Regions from separate parts of the Homo sapiens genome. Here all the other regions are linked to region 4. Evidence: promoter capture Hi-C in human tissues and cell types (Jung and others, 2019). All regions are on one chromosome and are shown on one strand. Each heading gives the region's core, a stretch centred on a gene start or on the middle of the fragment in contact. The rest is flanking DNA. Distances are from core to core; before and after follow the strand shown. Region 1 has its middle 470 kb from the start of CDH20. Region 2 has its middle 370 kb from the start of MC4R. Region 3 overlaps KDSR-DT (KDSR divergent transcript). Region 4 holds the start of RNF152 (ring finger protein 152). Region 5 overlaps BCL2 (BCL2 apoptosis regulator). Region 6 has its middle 300 kb from the start of MC4R.

The links. The method cuts DNA at HindIII sites, captures the fragments that hold promoters and counts their contacts. A contact is called where the count stands out against the background at its distance.
Region 1: a contact is called between a fragment that was not itself captured here and the fragment with the promoter of RNF152 in region 4, in 1 of the 25 tissues and cell types used here (mesendoderm cells).
Region 2: a contact is called between a fragment that was not itself captured here and the fragment with the promoter of RNF152 in region 4, in 1 of the 25 tissues and cell types used here (IMR-90 fibroblasts).
Region 3: a fragment that was not itself captured here is called in contact with the fragment with the promoter of RNF152 in region 4 in 1 of the 25 tissues and cell types used here (stomach).
Region 5: a contact is called between a fragment that was not itself captured here and the fragment with the promoter of RNF152 in region 4, in 1 of the 25 tissues and cell types used here (stomach).
Region 6: a fragment that was not itself captured here is called in contact with the fragment with the promoter of RNF152 in region 4 in 1 of the 25 tissues and cell types used here (dorsolateral prefrontal cortex).

The regions. Positions count from the first base shown.
Region 1 is chr18:60,865,178-60,868,309 of GRCh38, forward strand. No RefSeq gene overlaps it. Among named protein-coding and RNA genes, the nearest start is that of CDH20, 470 kb to the right of the region's middle. The HindIII fragment of the contact is 7,027 bases long and covers 1-3,132 here.
Region 2 is chr18:60,739,196-60,742,624 of GRCh38, forward strand. No RefSeq gene overlaps it. Among named protein-coding and RNA genes, the nearest start is that of MC4R, 370 kb to the left of the region's middle. The HindIII fragment of the contact is 4,222 bases long and covers 1-3,429 here.
Region 3 is chr18:63,377,564-63,380,648 of GRCh38, forward strand. All of the region lies in intron 1 of KDSR-DT (KDSR divergent transcript), which reads left to right. Among named protein-coding and RNA genes, the nearest start is that of KDSR-DT, 12 kb to the left of the region's middle. The HindIII fragment of the contact is 7,971 bases long and covers 1-3,085 here.
Region 4 is chr18:61,891,302-61,894,589 of GRCh38, forward strand. RNF152 (ring finger protein 152) reads right to left here and starts at 1,706. Exons shown (of 2, transcript NM_173557.3): 1 at 1,494-1,706. LOC105372159 (a long non-coding RNA gene) reads left to right here and starts at 3,252. Exons shown (of 3, transcript XR_935562.3): 1 at 3,252-3,288. RefSeq lists silencers at 2,892-3,041, 3,112-3,261. The HindIII fragment of the contact is 14,100 bases long and covers 1-3,288 here.
Region 5 is chr18:63,206,263-63,209,469 of GRCh38, forward strand. The region is part of intron 2 of BCL2 (BCL2 apoptosis regulator); the gene reads right to left. Among named protein-coding and RNA genes, the nearest start is that of BCL2, 110 kb to the right of the region's middle. The HindIII fragment of the contact is 4,136 bases long and covers 1-3,207 here.
Region 6 is chr18:60,676,087-60,679,308 of GRCh38, forward strand. No RefSeq gene overlaps it. Among named protein-coding and RNA genes, the nearest start is that of MC4R, 300 kb to the left of the region's middle. The HindIII fragment of the contact is 8,619 bases long and covers 1-3,222 here.

The sequences.
Region 1 (3,132 bases), core at 34-2,533, 1.0 Mb before region 4:
GCCTTGTAAATACCTTATTAAAAGCAAGAGCAAAAAGATGATCTTGGAAATAAATCTATTTTAATGTGATATTTTTTCATAATATAAAAATTTGAGAACTTTAAACTCCAAATAAGTAAAGACTTAAGAAAAAGTAATTTAGAACAGAGTAAGAAAGAATAGTAAATAGGTTACACTAATCATAGAAGCAATATTAATTTTAAAAATTTGGGATGTATTTACTTATTCATTTATTTTTATTTATTGATTGATTTCTTCTGAGACAGGTTCTCCTCTGTCTCTCAGGCTGGAGTACAGTGGTGTGATCACGGCTCACTGTAGCCTTGTCCTCAACCTCCGGGGTTCAAGTGATTCTCCCACCTCAGCCCTCCTGAGTAACTGGGACCAGAAGTGAAAGCCACTACGCTCAGCTAACTTTTTGTATTTTTTGTACAGATAGGGTTTTGCCGTTGCCCAAACTGGTCTGGAACTCCAGGGTTCAACGGATCCTCCCACCTTGCCCTCCCAAAGTGTTAGTATTATGGGAGTGAGCCACTATGCCTGGCCAGGATTTATTTTTATAAAAAAATAAAAGAGTAAAGAACCACAGATAAAACATTAATTGAATTGTGTATCCACAAGCATCCCAAACAGAAAACAATTCAAAGTTTTCACTATTCGTGTTTTTTGTTTTTGTTTTCCTCATATCTTCATTTCAGGCTTTTTTTCTTGTTCTCTTTCAATGGACTAGTAGTGATGTAATTAGCGCTCATGGCTTTTTATCAGCAACAGGAATTCCTTTTCACTCCTTTTTGTTTATGTTTCATTTTGCAGGTTGCAGCAAGGTTTTTTGGCTCTTTACAAAGGGCCTGTCAAAAGCCAAGAGAGCAAAAGACAATGTGGAGATTACAGGCAGGAGACAAGGGCCAAATTTGTTAATAGAACATTTGTGTCTTGCTGAGCTGGCTGCCCTTGGGGTGGATGTAGCTAGTGAACCTTGGGTCTACAAAGCAGATGTTCCCTTTCCAGAGAGACAAGACCACATACTTCCTACTGTTCTGAAAATGAAGATGGGGGATGTCAGAAGACAAGCCCAACAAGCTTTCATATGTTTCTCATTGCCTTTGCCCACATCTTAAATATGCTAGAGGGCCCAATGGACATGCCCTTTTATTTCACCACCCCCTACAGAACTGAGGTAAATATGGCTACATGAAACTAACTTTAGTGTTAGAGTTCATTTTCTCACATCACTCAGTAATTATAACCTCGAGGGCAGTCCTTCAAGTTAAGAAAGAGCAAACGCTAATCTCAATTTTAAAATTGACAATGATCTTCCAGTTAATATTATTATCACTTCTAAAAAGCATGAGGCTATATCTTTGCAGTACCCAACTAGATGTAAGGTGCTTAAGTAATGAGGATGCTGAAATGATTAGTTTTTTGGTACATATCAAAAGCAGTGCTCTCGGCGGGGCGCGGTGCCTCACGCCTGTAATCCCAGCACTTTGGGAGGCCAAGGCGGGCGGATCACGAGGTAAGGAGATCAAGACCATCCTGGCTAACACAGTGAAACCCCGTCTCTACTAAAAATACAAAAAAAATAGGCAGGCGTGGTGGTGGGCGCCTGTATTCCCAGCTACTCGGGAGGCTGAGGCAGGAGAATGGCGTGAACCCGGGAGGCGGAGTTTGCAGTGAGCCGAGATCGCGCCACTGCAATCCAGCCTGGGTGACAGAGTGAGACTCCGTCTCAAAAAAAAAAAAAAAAAGTAGTATTCTCATTGTCCGTGTTAATTTCCTTGTTGCTTTGGGACTACCAGTGGGATATTTTCAGAACTTTCCAGCCCAAGCTAAATAACCTGTCATTTTTATGCAATTGAGGAGAATTTTACTCTATGTTTTCCATAAATATTTTCCTGAATTTTCTTATTCTACAGTGAAAGTCCAATATTTTTAATGATTCCAAATGTAATTTTTAAAAATATATTTAAAGCACAGTGTTTAACTCAAATTTGTAGTTGTCTTACTTTCACTGAGAAGCAACATTTTATTATCCTAAGAAAAGAAATTGTAGGCATTTACTTTGATACAGTTCAAGGCCAGAAAAGAAAGGAGAGTGATCTGACTTTCCACACTGTAGGACGTAGGCCAATAGAGCTACCCACAACCATATATCCCAATATATTAGTCAACTCATAAAAATTATTCAACTCATCAACAAAAGTGCTCACCAACGCCAACTGATAAATTTGTCATGTGAGAAAAATCACTGGGATCATCTTTCCTCCTGGTGCATTGTGAATTTTTCCCTAGGATTTTAGAAAGTACCCTCTTCAAGTACTGATAGAATTATCATATAGCGAAAGTAGACATTAATTGAAATCTCATAAATATATTCCATTTTTGGCATGACATTTTTTAATAAAAGATTAATAAAGCTACCCATAAGTATCCAGAAAAACTAGCTCTGTATGTTTTCCAAACCTAGCTTATTTTGTTTCTTTTTAATTATATTTTTAAATATGTCACTTACTGACAGTATTCAAGAAAAAGTAGCGACCAGTATGAAAAAACTTTTACCTGGATCACCATAGCATTTTGTGTATTTTATACTAAATACAAGTATCATCTTTAAAATATGTTATTTGGTAGTCATTTGGTAGCTACAGGGTAAAATTAAGTGTAATTTTCCCAGCTCAGCTTTTCACAACTTGCTACTAAGATAAGAGAACTGGCAAAGCATGGAAAGTGATTACCAACATTTCCATGATTGGCAGGATGTTACAGCTCTGTTCAGTGTTCCTCGGGTGGCTGGCTTTTGGTTTAACCCAGCTGATGGAGTGCTCATGCTCTATTTCCCCACAGTTGCCACCAGGCTTACTCTTCTTTAGGAAGTCAAGTTCACTGCCAAGCAGAAAATGAGGAATCCATCTTGCTCTATGTGGGTACAGCTACTTCTCCATACCCATCAGCAATTTTCCTTTACTCTCAGTTGAAGAGTAAAACTTCCAGAGAGTAAATTTTTTATGAAATAAGCATAGGAAGTAATATTGACATATTGCATTACAATAGTAGTCCTCATAAGTAATGAGCTTTTGGTGGTGACAAGAATAAGAGAAGCTCTGAGAAGAGTGCCCGTTTTTTCTTTTTTTT
Region 2 (3,429 bases), core at 248-2,747, 1.2 Mb before region 4:
AATACGGATGGAAAGAAAAAAAATCCACCCACACACAAAAATAGAGAAGCGTGTTAGTGATGGCAGTGGCAGCCCATCTGGAGCAGCTGTTGCAAAGATGCTGGCTGCAGCGGGGGAGAGGCAGCTGGGGGTGCCATTGTCACAGAGCTGGCGGGAGCTAGGAACAGACGGGAGCCCAGTCCCCTTCTGAGTTGGTGAAGCAGGAGCTCTGGGCTCCCTAGCACAACTACAGCCACCCAGATGTGGCTGCAGACCCAAGCATCCCTGTGCTCTTGGGGGCCCGGGAAGCCCCCCTTCCCCTGCAGGCTCAGAAGTGCCTGCTCCCGCTGCCTGGCCTCTCTCCACTCCTAGCGCCCATTCCAATTTTGAAGCAAAGTTGTAGCCAAGCCTGTCCACTGACACAACCTGGCCAGATGTCCCTGCACTAGGAGCAGCACTGACACGCCACCCCCCTGCCACCTCAGCCCCCTCTGGACTTTGGGTGCTGACGAGCATGGGAGGGAAGCTGAGGGGGTGCTGAGGGCAGCTCAGCACAGGGCTGCAGGCACCCCTTGTCATGAACAGCCTAAATGCCATGAATGGTGGCAGGAGGCAGACAGGTTCCTGGGTGGAAAGGGGCAGATCTCCCAGTGAAGCCCCACATTCAAACCGGGAGGCGTGAGGCATGGGGGCCTGGCTGCCAGTTCCATGGACTAGAGTGAGAACTTAGACGATGCTTTTTCCAGGCTGCTGATGGCCACACATGGACCAGTCAGTATGAGACTGTCTACCTTCTGAAGCCCATAAAAACTGGAACTCAGCAAGAACCAGGCAATGTTGGGAAGCCCTGCCTGCAGAGAGGTGCTACCCACTCTGGGTATCTTCTCAGCTGACAGCTGAGCAGACAATGGGATGACCTGCCTGCAGAAAAGAGGTAACCACGTAGAGTCTCTTGAGAGCTGTGTTATATCTCAATAAAGCACCCCTTTGCCTTACTCACCCTCCAGCTCTCTGCATACCTCTCTCTTCCTGGACACAGGACAAGAACTCGTGACTCACCAAATGGCAGGACAGAAAGAGCTGTAACACAAATAGGTCTGAAACATGCCCACCTGCTTGCCATCTTGGGAGTGACAAGGAGGAGAGGAGAGAGAAGGAGAGAAGAGCTGTGGCCCTTCAAGGAGCCTAGACCTAGGAGCTCCCCAAGCCAGGGCTGTGACACCCCTCTTTGGGGTTCTGTCGTTCCTAGCATCTCCAAGCTTCTGGTTGCCACTGCGTTCCCTGGTGCCCACAATAGAAGCTGCGTGCAGTATGTCTGGCCCAGCTGCAGCCTCCCAGGAAGCCAAAGCCCGTGCCGGTTCCTGGAGCTGCCGGCCCCGCCACAGCCAGAGTGCCTGGCTGTGCACAGTGTTGGGACCCCAGGCTTGCTCACTCACACATCTCCCCTCTCCGCAACTGGTTCACCCTTGGCAGGTATGAGATCCAGGCTGGTAGTGTGAGCCAAGTGCAGCCTGCCAGGCTGAGTGGGCAGAACAAGCCCAGCAGGCCTGAACTAAACTCAGGCAATGGCACCGCTGGCCACAGAGGTTTCCGGCTGGCAATGCAACACCCCAAGAATCCTGTGTCATTAGTCCACGTGGTGCTATAACAAAATGCCTGTGACTGTGCAACTTACAAAGAACAGACATTCATTTCTCATTTCTGGAGGTTGGGAGTCTAAGACTATAATGTCAGCAAGTTTTACATCTAAGGGGGCCCAGTGTACACTTCCAAGATGGCACAGAGATGCTGCATCATCCTCTGAGAAGAGAAACCTGTGTCCCCACATGGCAGAGGGGATGGAAGGGGAAGACAATGCTTTCTTCCACTTGGAGCTCTTTTATAAGGGTGTTAATCCCACTCCTGAGGGCAGAACCCTTGTGACTTAAGCAACTCCCAAAAGTCACACCTCTTAAACTATTGCACTGGGGATTAAGTGTCAACATAAATTTTAGAGGGAACAGTATCATTCAAATAATAGCAAGGAGGAAATCAAATGAGGAAATGAAATAAACTGTTTAATATAACACAGATAGAACCTAGAAAAACTGGGACTTTAATCTCATTCTAATTACATCATTGTATCACTGAAGTAAAAACAAAATGATCTTCTGAAAAAATTCCAAGTACCATCATTAACCATGGACTTTTAATGACACCAGAGTTTGTTAAATATTGATGACTCTTTCCAAACACTGTATTTTCCATTCAAGCTAAAACAAGCTAGAAATGTTGAGTATCTTCCCTTAGATATTTTATATGAAGCTATTTACTGGCCCATCATATGTGCTACAAGGTTAATGTGCTTCTTGCCTAAGATCTAGACATTACCTAGTCTTGTGTGTAAATAGTGAAAAATGGAGAGGAGTGACCTAATTAGTGAATGTTTTCATTACAATCTATGATTTTGGTGTTTCTATGTTAAATGCTTAATCTGTATTCTAGGATATTCATCGTTAGATTGTTTTTAGTTAAAATGTCCCTTAAAAATTGATCTACATTGGAAAATAAGATCATTTACATATAAAATGCAAATTTATTTTAGCTAAGAGGGATTAAACCATTTGAAAATTATTACATTAGCATAATCTTTTTATCTTTTAAAAATTTTATGCCAAGGGTTTCGTGGTAAAACTGACACACACTTGCCTAATGCTGGTAACAGGACACATTGGAACAAACCTTTTGTAAATAAATTTGGTAAAAATCAAACAAGAAATTGATCATGCTTGTATTCAGTCATATGTAATCTGATATCTGACAAAAAGTGCAAGGCATATAAAAATCTATATAGATTGTATTGGCCATCCATTGTCACACTATCGAAAATATTTCTATAGTATTAAAGATTTATGCACTATTTTCAATACCTGATTAAGTAATCATGGATACAAATTTGAGATAATGCCATACAGTCATTAAATATGATAATTTCAAAGATTATAGAGTTTTGTCAGAAAACAATAACTGAAAGAAAAGAAATTTATGACCTCTAAGACTATAAAGTATGTGTTTAAGAAATGGAAAATATAAACTTCTGGTCCATTTAAAAAGATGAAATTGTGGGGCTTTTTTTCTTAGAAACATAGTTATTATTTTTAAAGCATAGCTTCTCAAACTTTAATGTGCACACAAATCACTTGTAGATCCTGCTATTATGCAGATTCTGATTTAGTAGATATAGGTAGGGTATGAAACTGGATTTTACAAGTTCCCAAGGACCAGACTTCCCACAGCAAGGGTCTAAATGCTATTTGTCACTTAAGTACAAATTAGGGAAAGGGAAATATATATACATATTTTTAGAATTTTTTATATATATACATTTATAAACTACATATACACACATTATATACAAATATGATGTGTATATATAGTATATATATATATTATATATAGAAAGAGATATAT
Region 3 (3,085 bases), core at 15-2,514, 1.5 Mb after region 4:
TCCTTCCTTCCTTCCTTCCTTCCTTCCTTCCTTCCTTCCTCCTTCCCCCCTTCCTTCCTTCCTTCCTTCTGTTCATTCCAGGTCTTTAGATAATAACTCTTTCAACCAATTGCCTATCAGAAAATCTTGGAATCTGCCTATGACCTCCCAGTTTCCAGTTGTTCCACCTTTCTGGACCAAACCAATGTACATCTTACACGTATTGATTGATGTCTCATGTCTCCCTAAGATGTATAAACCAAGCTGCAGCCCAACCACCATGGGCATATGTTCTCAGGATCTCCCGGGGCTGTGTCATGGGCCATTGTTCACTCATATTTGGCTCAGTATAAATCTCTTCAAATGTTTTAGAATTTGACTCTTTTGGTTGACATGAAAAAGTTGAAAGCAGGAAATAAACAATAAGAACCATTAAGCTAATTTCTAATCTTATCTGATAATTTTTTTTAAATATTTTTTGTATCTTGTTGAAACCATTAAAAAGATATTTTGGATTACCTTAGAATAGCAATATTGGCATTCTTACTCTTCTTACATTCTTAAAAATGAACAAAATATAGAAAATTAAATTAAAAACACTTTTTTTTGAGATGGAGTCTCTATCTGTCACCCAGGCTAGGGTGTGGCATGATCTCAGCTCACTGTAACCTCCGCCTCCTGGGTTCAAGCGACTCTCCTGCCTCAGCCTCCCGAGTAGCTGGGATTACAAGCATGTGCCCCCATGCCTGGCTAATTTTTGTATTTTTAGTAGAGATGGGTTTCATATGTTGGCCAGGCTGGTCTTGAACTCCTGACCTCAGCGGATCTGCCTGCCTCAGTTTCCCAAAGTGCTAGGATTACAGGCGTGAGCCATTGTGCCCGGCCTGAAAGATACATAGTTTCTTTTTTTTCTTCTTCTTCTTTTTTTTTGAGACAGAGTTTTGCTCTTGTCACCCAGTCTGGAGTGCAATGGCACAATCTTGGCTCGCTGCAACCTCTGCCTCCTGGGTTCAAGTGATTCTCCTGCCTCAGCCTCCTGAATAGCTGGGATTACAGGCACCTGCCACCATGCCTGGGTAATTTTTGTGTTTTTAGTAGAGATGAGGTTGCACCATGTTGGCCAGGCTGGTCTCGAACTCCTGACCTCAGGTGATCTGCCTGCCTTGGCCTTCTAAAGTGCTGGGATTACAGGTGTGAGCCACCGTGCTCGACTTGAAAGGTAAGTAATTTCTTTTGAAAGGAACTGGCACAATCCTGATACAGAGGTATTATGAGAGAAAAAAAAAAAAAGAGGGGAAAGAGCGGTGAAGAGCAGAAAGACTCCTCAATAGATTTACACTCAGGGAAAAAACAAAACAAAACAAAAAATCTTTTATTTGGATACTTAAATATTTCACCATGATTTAAAACATTTGGTGAAGCAGTTATTTTATGAAGGAAGACTACAAATGCAAGGACTCAGGGAAGAATGATGAAACAACAAGAGGAGATAAAAGTTACACTGGCAGAAATCAGGAAAGAAGTAAAAGTAAAAATCATCACAGATATGAAAATGAAAGTGAACGCAGGAGGAGAATAGAGTGAAAAACACAGTAAGGAACAGAAAGGAAATAATGAGTAAAGCAAACAAAATGAAATGAAAACAAAGAATTTAAAAGACAGAAAAAAAGATAAGAAAACAGACAAAGGATGTGAGTCGACATATGTAGAATAGGAATACCTGAAGAAAAAAAACAAGACATTAGAAATATTTTTAAAAATTTCAAATACACTTTCCTAAAATACTAAAGCATTTGAACATTTATATGTGTGTGTACACACATACACATAAATAGATAGATAGATAGGTAGATAGATATGATATTTTACACCAGGGAAAACTGACTGAAAATAATCAACATTGAGTCATTCTCTAGTAAGTATTGGATTTTAAAAGAGTGAAGACTTTGGTCAGTTAGACAAAATCATCAGGTCAGTTGTCTTAAAAAGAGATCAGGCTAGTTTCAGGTTTCTCCAGAGTGACATTCAACATGAGAGAACGATGCAACATCTGTCAGATCCTCAAGGAAGGAATGTTGTGTCAAGGTTTCACGTTCAGCGAATCTGTATTTCACCCATAAAAGTTTCAGACAAATAATTTTGAACATCTAATAACCAAGGAAATCTTTTTCCCATAAGCAGTTCTTGAGGAAATTATTAAGACTACAGGATGACTCAGCCAGCCAATAGCTGACTGGGAAAAGCATAGTAAAAGAGCAATCTTTTGAAAATTGAATCTATTTAACAGTACACCAAAGCCTAAAGCAAATGTGAGATGTAGGGTAAAGAATAATATGTATGTACATGTTATATGCAAAAATAATACAAAGGGCAAATTTTGGGAGAGGAAGGAGAAAAACGTGAAAGATGTGTGGGAAGCACTGAAGATCAGTTAGTCATTGATTCTTTTTTTTTCTTTTCTTTTTTTTTTTTTTGAGACGGAGTCTCACTGTGTCGCCCTGGCTGGAGTGCAGTAGCACGATCTCCGCTCACTGCAACCTCCACCTCCCGGGTTCAAGTGATTCTCATGCTTTAGCCTCCCGAGTAGCTGGGATTACAGGCTCCCACCACCTCACTCGGCTAATTTTTATACTTTTAGTAGAGACGGGATTTCACCATGTTGGCTGGGATGGTCTCAAACTCCTGACCTCAAGTGATCCGCCCGCCTCAGCCTCCCAAAGTGCTGGGATTACAGGCTTGAACCACCACGCCCGGCAGTTAGTCATAGATTCTATCACTAGATATTTTTTAAACTGCAGAAACGATTCTTTATCCTTCAGTGTTATTTATTTAGACATGTTTGCTTCATGTAGTGTTTAAGTGCATGTGTGGGTTTTTTTTCCCCGAACCATTTCAAAGTAATTTATAGACATCATGGCACTTCCTCTGCATCCCTGTATGAGCACACTTAAGCATATGTCTTCTAAAGTGAAGGGTACAATGCACACTAACATTACCTACAATACCATTATCGCACCTAAGGCAATAACAATTCCATAATATTACCTACAATCCAGCCCATATTCATATTTCTTCAATTGCCCCCCATTTTTTTTTCTAGATGGGA
Region 4 (3,288 bases), core at 456-2,955:
TGTACACAATTTAAAACCACAATGAAACCTAACACTGCACTGTGGCTATCTTTGTTCTTGGACGTGCATTTACATGGGCAGGCTACTGTTTTGCCATGTGGAATTTTGTGTGCGAAGTGTTTATTCTTTCTATTAAAAAAAAAACCACACCCTTGTTTCTATTGCATTATTACATTCCCTATTATCCCATCACATGTTTTTTCTTCTTGCAGCAACACAGTACACACCCTGTACTATTGCTGACATAAAAATTACTTGTCAAAAATACCTCTATCTTAGCACCACATTACTCATCTGATCTTTGCAAAGCACTGGCCTTTGTTTCACCTGGGACTAGATAACTCAACTGCTTTTACTAGTGACTCCTGAATGCTTGTAGTAGAAGGATAAATGCTAGTGTCACCTATGTTTTTAAAGTCACCTTCCAAAACAAAACTACATTGGAGGTGAATAATAAATCTTTCAAGTTTTTAACTTCATTTTTCAAGGGATTTGGAGGAAAATGGTGAAGAGAGAATCTGTCACAGATACCAAGGTGTTACTGCAATGTAAAAGAGAGTAGACCAGGAGCCTTTGGCCCTCAGCAATCTGTCTTCCTACAAGAAAAATCGAAAGCCCATTTCCATAACCATTCTTATTCCCTGCTACTAGTGTAGGATGCGCAGGACTCTGCCCTCTAGCAGAAAATGCTAATGCCGGAGTGTCCTGCTAAGTCTGAAGGTTACGTTTTTTCATTGCACTCTTATCAAGATAACCCCAGATCTGGCTAGGCTGACATCAAAACAGAACTATCCTTGGAAAGAAAAGAACAGGCCAGAGTTTTTGGAAAAGCCCCAATAACCTAAAGATAAAATCCAGAATGAGAGTCTACTGGTTCATGGCTATCTAAATGGAAACTTCACTCAAGCTGTTTTCTCTGTTCTCTTTCTGCTGCCCCCAACAGCCCTCCCTTCCACCTCCCAGTACTCACTGCTAGCATGTCTCTCTTAATATTGCAAACACTATTACAATGAAGGAACAGAAGAAAGACAGTATTTCATACGAAGGTCACTGCATTTGACCGGTGCTCAATTAGAGCACTGGGCAAAAGTACAATCAGCCTTCCAATGATACCTTTTCAACAAAGGATACCCCACCTCTAGACTGAAGCCTAAATCTATTACTACAGATAAGAAAGCAGGCATCTATGGAAACCTAACATTCAGATACAACTGCCTGTGTATGAATTATATCAAAATTCCCATGAAAGGAAACCAGGTGGGATTTCTACAATCCCAAATTCACCCTGCACCTACCTCCAATGGCTTCTTCAAAGGGAAGGTATAAAGTCATTTGCAATTTATTTCTTTGAACCAGGAGTTTTAGCAGCCCCCACACCTTCTCACAGATAGGAACGATGTTGATGCAGAAACCACCCAAACAGCCCTGTGCCAGCACTGTCGGCCCAAATGACCCAGAGACACCCAGGCGCTACCCAGATCGTGGGGGGTTACCTGTATCTGTCACCGAGTCTCTTTCACCCCTTCTGCGTGATGACATCAAGTGGAAATGGTACACGTTTAGGAGGCAAGAGGCTGACAGGCAGGAAACACAATTGAGACTGAGCTTTCTTCAGCCTGCAGTGAAATACATGCAGGAAGGGTTAGATACGCGCCGCGGAGAAGGAAATCCAAGCGCCCTCCTGGGCAGACGGGGCTGGAGCGGGTGCACTAGGGAGGTGGAGCAAGGCAGATGAGGTGTGGAGGGCTGGCGGCCGAGAAGGGGGCGTCACGGCTCCTAATTGTCTCTACAGGATAAATAACCACCTCCCCCCTCCTCCGCAGTCTCCCCCGCCCACGAGTTCCCCTCTGGTGGCAGAGCGCCTACTAGCAACAGTAAGCCCTAGGAAAGAAAGAAATCGGAGCAGGTGGGGAATAACATCTTGGGGCAAAGACACACTGGCAAAATCTACCAGGTAACCCGGTCATATGGGAATGCGGGGCGCCTAGTCAGCCGCGCAGACAGGCACACAGCGCGGCAATCCCGAGCATCTTTCTTTCGTTTGCCCCTGTCCGCCACCTCATCAAGTCACCGCCACCTCATCAAGTCACCGTCACCTCATCAAGTCACCGTCACTCTGCTTTGGCGATTTCTCTACTCTCTCCAGACCCAGGCAGCGCTCCCCAAGCCATGCCCCGACCCCAGGCGGGATTGGGGACCGCCGCTTCCCGAGCAGCGCCCCACGAGTCCAGCTGGCTTTGTCCTGCCGCTGTCCTTCCAGGAGCAAGCGCCCCAGGCGCGTGTGTCTGCACAAAAGACCCCCAACATCTGGCCCTTCACAGCGCTCTCTAATCCCGGGAGGGGCCCTGGGGCAACTTCTAGGGCTGGAGAAGGCGCGAGACAAGGGGACCGGGAGAAGATGAGCCGGGGTGTGTGCGGGCCGGGGGCGCAACTGGGGCGGGCGCGCGCGCACGTGCACACCCAGGGGCGCGCGCGGCGCGGGCACGAGGAAAGCTCCCTCGGACCGGAGCTCCAGGGGGCATCCGAGGACTCGGCCGAGCAGCCGACAGCGCCGCTCCCCGCCGCGGCCGCCCGCCCAACTCCGCCAGCTCTCAGGAGACACGCAACTCCCGGGACCACCTCCCCCGTGCCCCGCCAGACCCCGCGCTCCCCTCCCCGGGACCCTGCGGCCCCGCCACCCCCTCCGCGGTCCAGAAGATCTCCCCAGTTACAGCAGGCGGCAGCTGCCCTTTCCCGCTTCCACGGCTTCGGCGCGGCCGCCGTAGGGGCGCAGACATCCCTGCGCACCCCTCTGTCCGCCCCCGATCCGGAGCCGGCAGAGCAGAGAAACAAACCGAAACTCACTGACCTTTCTCCGCGGCGGGCTCGGGTGCTCGCTACAGAGGCGGCGGCGGCGGCGACAGCATCGCCGGGTGGTCCCGGCGCGCCCGCTCCTTTCAGCCAGACTCGCGCCCCGGGCCGGCGGCCGCCGCTCCTCCGGCCGAGAGCCACGGGGCGGACGCTGACAGCGCGGCGGCGGCGCCTGCAGCCCCAGCACCCGGCCCGGCCCTTCGGGCGGCACCCCCACCTGCCCGGCCGCCCTCCGCGTTCGCGGTCGGACACCGCCGCCAGGCGCTCGGCACCGAGCGAGAGCTTTTTGTGTCACTGAGACTCCGGCACCAAAGGGGGTGGGGGGAGAGGCTGGGCTCCGCTCCCCGCGGCACCGCCCTCCCCGGCGGCTCCACCCCCTCCTCCCCGCCCACAGCCCGGCGGGCCCGGGACTTCTCTCCGTCAGTCCCGAATCGCCCA
Region 5 (3,207 bases), core at 619-3,118, 1.3 Mb after region 4:
ATAAGCACCGTGGCCAATACCCAAGCGTTAGATAATTAAAGGTCCCTCCAAGGATAAACACAAGTAAGAGTGGAAGCAAAGGAAGTGCACACGCTTGTCTCAAGAAAGACAGGGCATGTAGCCTTTTCCCTAGGATCTCTCATCATCTTCGCTTCTCTTTCTCACATCAAATGATGCCAATTCTTTAACTTTCCTAGGTTCCATTTCCCAATGCTTTCATCAGTTTCACTGTCTTCTGCGAGGCTGAATTTCCCTAATTAAGGGCAGTGGGAGACGCTCCACATTTGGAGTCCCTGTGAGGCAGCAAAGATGGAGAGCTGAGACTGACCATCCAGAATCCAGGTGTGCCTTCGCCACACAGAACAACAAGCATCGTTGATGCCTCTAGTAAGTGCCAGGTGTTGGGTTAGATGCTGTTGGAGATATAAAAGGTGGAGACATCATCTCTGTCACTTAATGAGAGTGACACTGATCGGACAGGATTTAAAGAAGGGGACTCTGGTGTGGGTGGGAAGAGCACAGTGGGAGGGTTGGGGCAGGGGCACGGCCTTGGGACTAGAGTAGGTGGAGGCAGTGGGGCGGGGAGGAGGAAAAGAAGGAAGGAAGAGGCCGGTCAGAGGAAGCCCAAAAGTGGATTCCTGGACACACAGTAAAAAGGGGAGGACGACTTAAAGACGGTTTCCAGATGTGGGGGTCTGGGGAGAAGGGAAGCTTTTACAGCTGCTGACAGAGGCTGACAGATGCAGAGAGGGCTCGTGGTGAGCTGGCTGAATTCGGGGTAAACAAGAGGAGATTTCATGCTTCACCTCAGATGAGGAAATAGGACTAGGAATACAGTTTTATGATTGAAGCCGTGACAGAAAAGCCTTTCCAAAGGAGCACAGTGGAGGAGAGAACTGGAGAAGAGGCACGGAGACCGCCAAGCGTTCCAGGTGCAGGCGGCAGGAGGGAGCCCAGGATGCCGGCAGAGCGAGCCTTGGTCTGTGAACCCCAGGGCCGATGGGCACCGGCTCATCTAATTCATTTGTGTACAGATCCACAAAACTGCACCTGGCTGTGGCCGTCAGTAAGTGCTATATAAATGCTTCATAAGTGTTTGTTGAAGGAAGTTGAAATGTAGTCGTCAGAAGAGTGAGAGGGAAACCAGCGACAGAGCCTTGTAAGTCTAAGAAAAAGAATTCAAAGATGGTCAAGAGCTAACATTGCACAGGGAATTACAGTATTTCCGGAAGACCAAGGGCAACTCTGATTGTTCCAGACTGCCTGGGAGCACCAGAGTCTGATTGTTCCAGACTGCCTGGGAGCACCAGAGTCTGATTGTTCCAGACTGCCTGGGAGCACCAGAGGTCTGGGTGGGGGCAGGAGTCAGTCCACCTGGAACTTCTGCCTCCAGTGCACTGAGTCTGCACGGACCACCAGGGCTGACACTGCCTTACTTAATATGGGGGTGGGGGAAGTCCCTGCGATATATAATGGTCTCAATTTAAATTCTGTGCTGTTTTTATTTTAGCTGTGTAATTTGGAAACTTCAAATAAAAAGCCTGAAAGGAAAGTTGGACTATTTAAGCTTACACAGACTCTATTAATGCTATATGGTTATTCTACCCCTGACTTTGGAAGAAGGAGAAACTGGCATGGGAATACACTTTTCTAAAAAAAATACTATTTAAAAATATGAAAGTTTATTTAACATCTAAGGAAAGGTACTTAATTAGAGGGACACTCAACAAGAAGAATTGAGGATCTAAGTAAATAGTCCCCATCTGCTCCTGGTCCTACCACCTGGCGATTACTTCCTCTTCTTCTCTGATAGATTTTAGCCAACCAATTTTGTTTTATTTGTGCAAGTTGAGAGGCCACCTGTTATGGAATATACTTCCACATTAAACAAAGTGAACATTTCCTATTTCTGTGCTTCCCATATGATTTTTAAAACACAAAGCACTCACTTTCACCTTAAACAGATTTAAGAAATGCTGACTCTGATGAACAGGTATAAACAAGGCAATCTTTTGTTTATGAAAATTGTTAACGACCTACCCACAGAAAGACATGCCCTGCGCCACACTGTACCCCCCACCCCCGCCCACCCGGCTCCCCGATGCTGGTGAATTAATCTATCCACACGTTTTTGCTCATTTCCCTGGCTGTTACCAGCTGAAGTGAAGAAAAGACATTTTACAAGGGGACATGGTATATTTGTGCTAAAACAGGCACCACACAAATCCAGAGAAAGGAGCCAAAAGGAAATACCAGGCAGAGGGAACAGCGTGGATAAAGGCAAAGCTGAGAAGAGGGTAAGTGTTTCGTGTTGGGGGATGGTGTATCTGGGGGCTGGGGGGAGTGGGGTACAGTGTATTGGGTTGAGGATTTATAGCCAGGAAAACTGGAAATAAAGGGGAAGGAGACTTTGTGAAGGGTTTTAACTATCGGGCTAAGGAAAGCTGCATTGTTCCTAACAACTGGGCACCAGTGGAAGTTTAGAGCCAGGAATATAATTGTCACAGAGGTGCTTTGGACTGAATAATACTGTGGCTGTAGGCAGCTCTGGGTTGGGGGTTGGGAGGTACAAGCCTCCAGGAATCCACTGCAGCAGTGTGGGCCCTGCCACGTTGTCCTGAACAAAGTGCTATGGGGATGGACACAAACATGAAGTGAAAACTCCAGAGATCACCTGACCTCCACGTGCCACTGCTCTGACTGCTGGACCACAGTGATGTTTGGGGTCTCCTGGAATTAGTGTCAGCTCAGAGCCAGTCACCAGTAGTCCCCAAAAGGTCTGATTAATTCCTTTTCCCCAGTGCACAGTCACCCTGGCAAAAGGCTATAGGTCCCTTTGGGGAAGGCTGGGAGAAAAAGCAACAGTATTAATTCTTGACAGTGTGGTAGGGTCCTTCGTCAAGGAGACCCGGCCTCCTCTTCATTCAAGGGCTTCTGGGTCGGTAAATTGGTGCAAGTGTGTGAATTGATCGAGGGGCCGTGACTCTCTGTTTTCAGGGTGCAAGTTGGGCTTTTGTTCCCTTCACCTAGAACTCCTCCACTTATACAGACCAAGTAAGGGTTTAGTAGATGTCCGCCTATGTCATTTCTAGGAACGCCATGAGGACAGGGTTGGAAGTGGGGGAAATGAAGTGTTAGTCTGTGTACGGATACAAAGAAAGTGAGATGATGGAACTGAAGATGACTAAGATGTGGGGAGCCAGGACT
Region 6 (3,222 bases), core at 524-3,023, 1.2 Mb before region 4:
TAAAGTTTATTAGAGTTGTCCCAAAGTTGTATGAACATTTCTTCTCCTATACCCAAGGCTACCAATTAACAGGTAACCAGTATTATTGATTTTTAAATGTAAAAGAGAAAATATAATTCGTGCCTTAATATGGTTAACTAATGAGTTTTCTAATATTTCCGACTGGTTTGCTAGCTTCCTGCTTTATATGATGCTATTTAATACCCTGTTTTCCACACTCAAATTACACTGTTCAACAGTGTCATCCCCTATGTTCTTCCACAGTAATATTAAATAATACAGAAGACATAAATTGGGTTTTGGTTGTTTACCCTAGGACGAGTATAAAATATGACACTTTTAATCATATTTTAATATTGTCATAGCAAGAACAATTTGGTTCGTGTTGCTTTTCCTTCCAGGAAAATGAAATAAAAAAAGTATATCAATTACTTATGAGAGAATTTATTTAGGGTTTCTAAAGATATAATAAGAATATCTAATTTTTATTTTATTAACTGCTTTGAATAATGGTTTACAATATCTGAGAAGACTCATGTTTGTACTATACAGGTGTAAATCTATTTAAAGCCATTCAGACAGTACTAGAGAGCATATAACATATGTAAGACTCCCAGAAACAAACCCTGAGAACAGTATTTGAGTTTATATGGAAGGTGAAAGGAACACCTGTAAGGAGGTGGGAGGAGTAAGACAAGAAAGGGCAGGTGGCGGGTAAAGGGTGTCTTGACAAGCCAGCTGGACCTGTGGGTGAACAGCGCTTAAACCCTCTGGGATTCTAGGAAAGTCAGCAGTCATTAGTTGAAGGCTTCTCTGGAGGATGTTAATTCTTCAGCACCTCTGGTCTGCTGTGCACGCAAGGAACCAGGCTCTGACAGCAGATAAAACCCTCAGGCAAAGAAATGTAAGTGCTGGCCACAAGGAGTCAGGCTAGGGTATGCCGAAGAGAAGATTAGGAGGGGGCTTAGGTGGAGCATCAACGGCACCTACTGCAGTATATTTAACTGAAGAGCCCACACCAGCTTCTGATGCCTAGAAAAAGTTCCTCTTTTTTTTTTTTTTTTTTTTTGACAGAGTCTTGCTTTGTCACACAGGCTAGAGTGCAGTGGAGCAATCTCAGCTCACTGCAACCTCTACCTCCCAAGTTCAAGCCATTCTCATGCCTCAGCCTCCCGAGTAGCTAAGATTACAGGTGCGCACCACAATTCCCAGCTAATTTTTGTATTTTTAGTAGAGCTAGATTTTTGCTATGTTGGCCAGGCTGGTGCCAAACTCCTGGCCCCAAGTGATCCACCCGCCTTGTCCTCCCAGAGTGCTGGGATTATAGGTATGAGCCACTGTGCCCAGTTGATGCTTAAAAAAATTCTAATGCTATTTTTCTTACTCTTCTGTAGCAGAGTAGAAAGCAAGTTTGTTTAACAGAATATTTGGATTTTCTTTTTTTTAAGTTCTGCAAAAGCTGATCACATAACAGCAATGTATTTCCCATCTGACATGACGTTGCTTCACCGCTTGCAGCTTATCTCCAAAGCTTCATTCCTCTGTCTTTTCTTGGTAAAGAATGTTGTTGTTGGGGAAGGACTGTCCAAATAAATGGTGAAGCTATGCTTTCAGGTCAGCAACATGCTGCAGAGTCCCTCTGAGTGGTCCAGCAAATAGCACATTCTGTGAGCATCAGGGTGTTGGCAGAGTTGGGGGTCATTGTATCAAGGCTGGGCTCTGAACCTGAACTCATGAGCCCTGCCTTCTCAAGCTCATCAGGATTTGCTTTGTTAGTTATTTGGGAGATTACAGTTTGCTTTGGAAGTTGTAAAATATCTTTAGAATGCATTGGTTTCTCTAAGTCCAATTTATTTCTGCAACATATTTTATCTGAGACTACACCAGGGAGAAACATAAATTAAAAGCTACTCAATTTGTGCCATTAGCCTGAAAGAATAATAGAAGAGACAACCTCTTCTTTGTCTTGGAAAATAAGTTAGCATACTTGTTTGACTACTAAAGGTGGGATTTCCAGATGTGTAATTTAGTTTAGATAGGTTGAAATAAAAGGTACATTTTCCTCTGAAATAAAGTAAAAGAGGCTGTAGTGTGGTGCTCTGTTCATGCCTCTAGAGATGGGAGAGCAGAAGATAAAGGGAAGGGAAAAGGAAGGGTCTAGGGAGCTAGGAAAACCAGTAACTTATGAGAAGGCTGCATCCTACTGAAGAAGTTATCAACTGAATTCCTGTGGTGGGCACTGGTCAATGAATTTACAGGAATTGCAATATGTTACCTTAAATTTAAAAATCATTCTACTCTGTAATGCAACTATTCAAAATACTTCCAATTAAAGTCTGGTAAAAACAAAACTTTGGTTAGCGGAATCTGGGGCAGGGAAAGAGGAGAAAGTAATCATTATTATATAAGAGACCAGCAGCACAGCACACAATATTTAGTAACCAGAATGTCTAACTACATTGTGGATTCTAATCAACTTCCTCCCAATAAGACATTCTGCTGCAGGGACATCCATCCCACTTTGTGGGGTTTGCAAACTTCTAAGAAACAAACCACTTAATAAGAGTGTCAAACATTGAGTAAGGCAACTGACCTAGACTCTCTCTCTCTTTTTTTTTTTTTTTTTTGGTCAATGTTGTTAAAATAAAGAAGTTTGGAAAGAACAGAAGGCTTCTCTTTATTACTTCTTCACAGCAGGTAAACAGCCTCCAAAAATTGCTTTGAGGCAATTAAGCAGGCAAAGGTTTTTATAAGGTTTTGAGGATGGAATCCCTGTGACAGTCCCAGGTAACCAAGTAGCAGAGACAATGAGTATAAGACCCAGAGAAAATTCCAAATTCCCAAACATTCTGGACTGAACATTTCCAAACAGGATATGGTAACTATGAGAAAATAAAATGAAATAAAAGATAAGAAAAAGTATTCCCTGTCACTTCTCTGATAAATATATGAATAGTTATTTCTCAGTAACTTGGCATTAACTTAGGGCCAAATAGAACACTCCAGCTAAGAGACCTAGGTAAAAATTTTTGAGATCCCGGGGACTCAAGATAGTCCAGGAACATATAGTCTTTCAATGGCAAGAAAGAAAATAAATATGCATAAACTGTTCATCCTAGACTAAGAAACATAAAGATTAAATACAATGTGCAAATTTTAATTGGAAATAAAAGAATCCAACTAAAAGAGATATTTTGGGAGGCAATTAGGGCAACTTTTTAA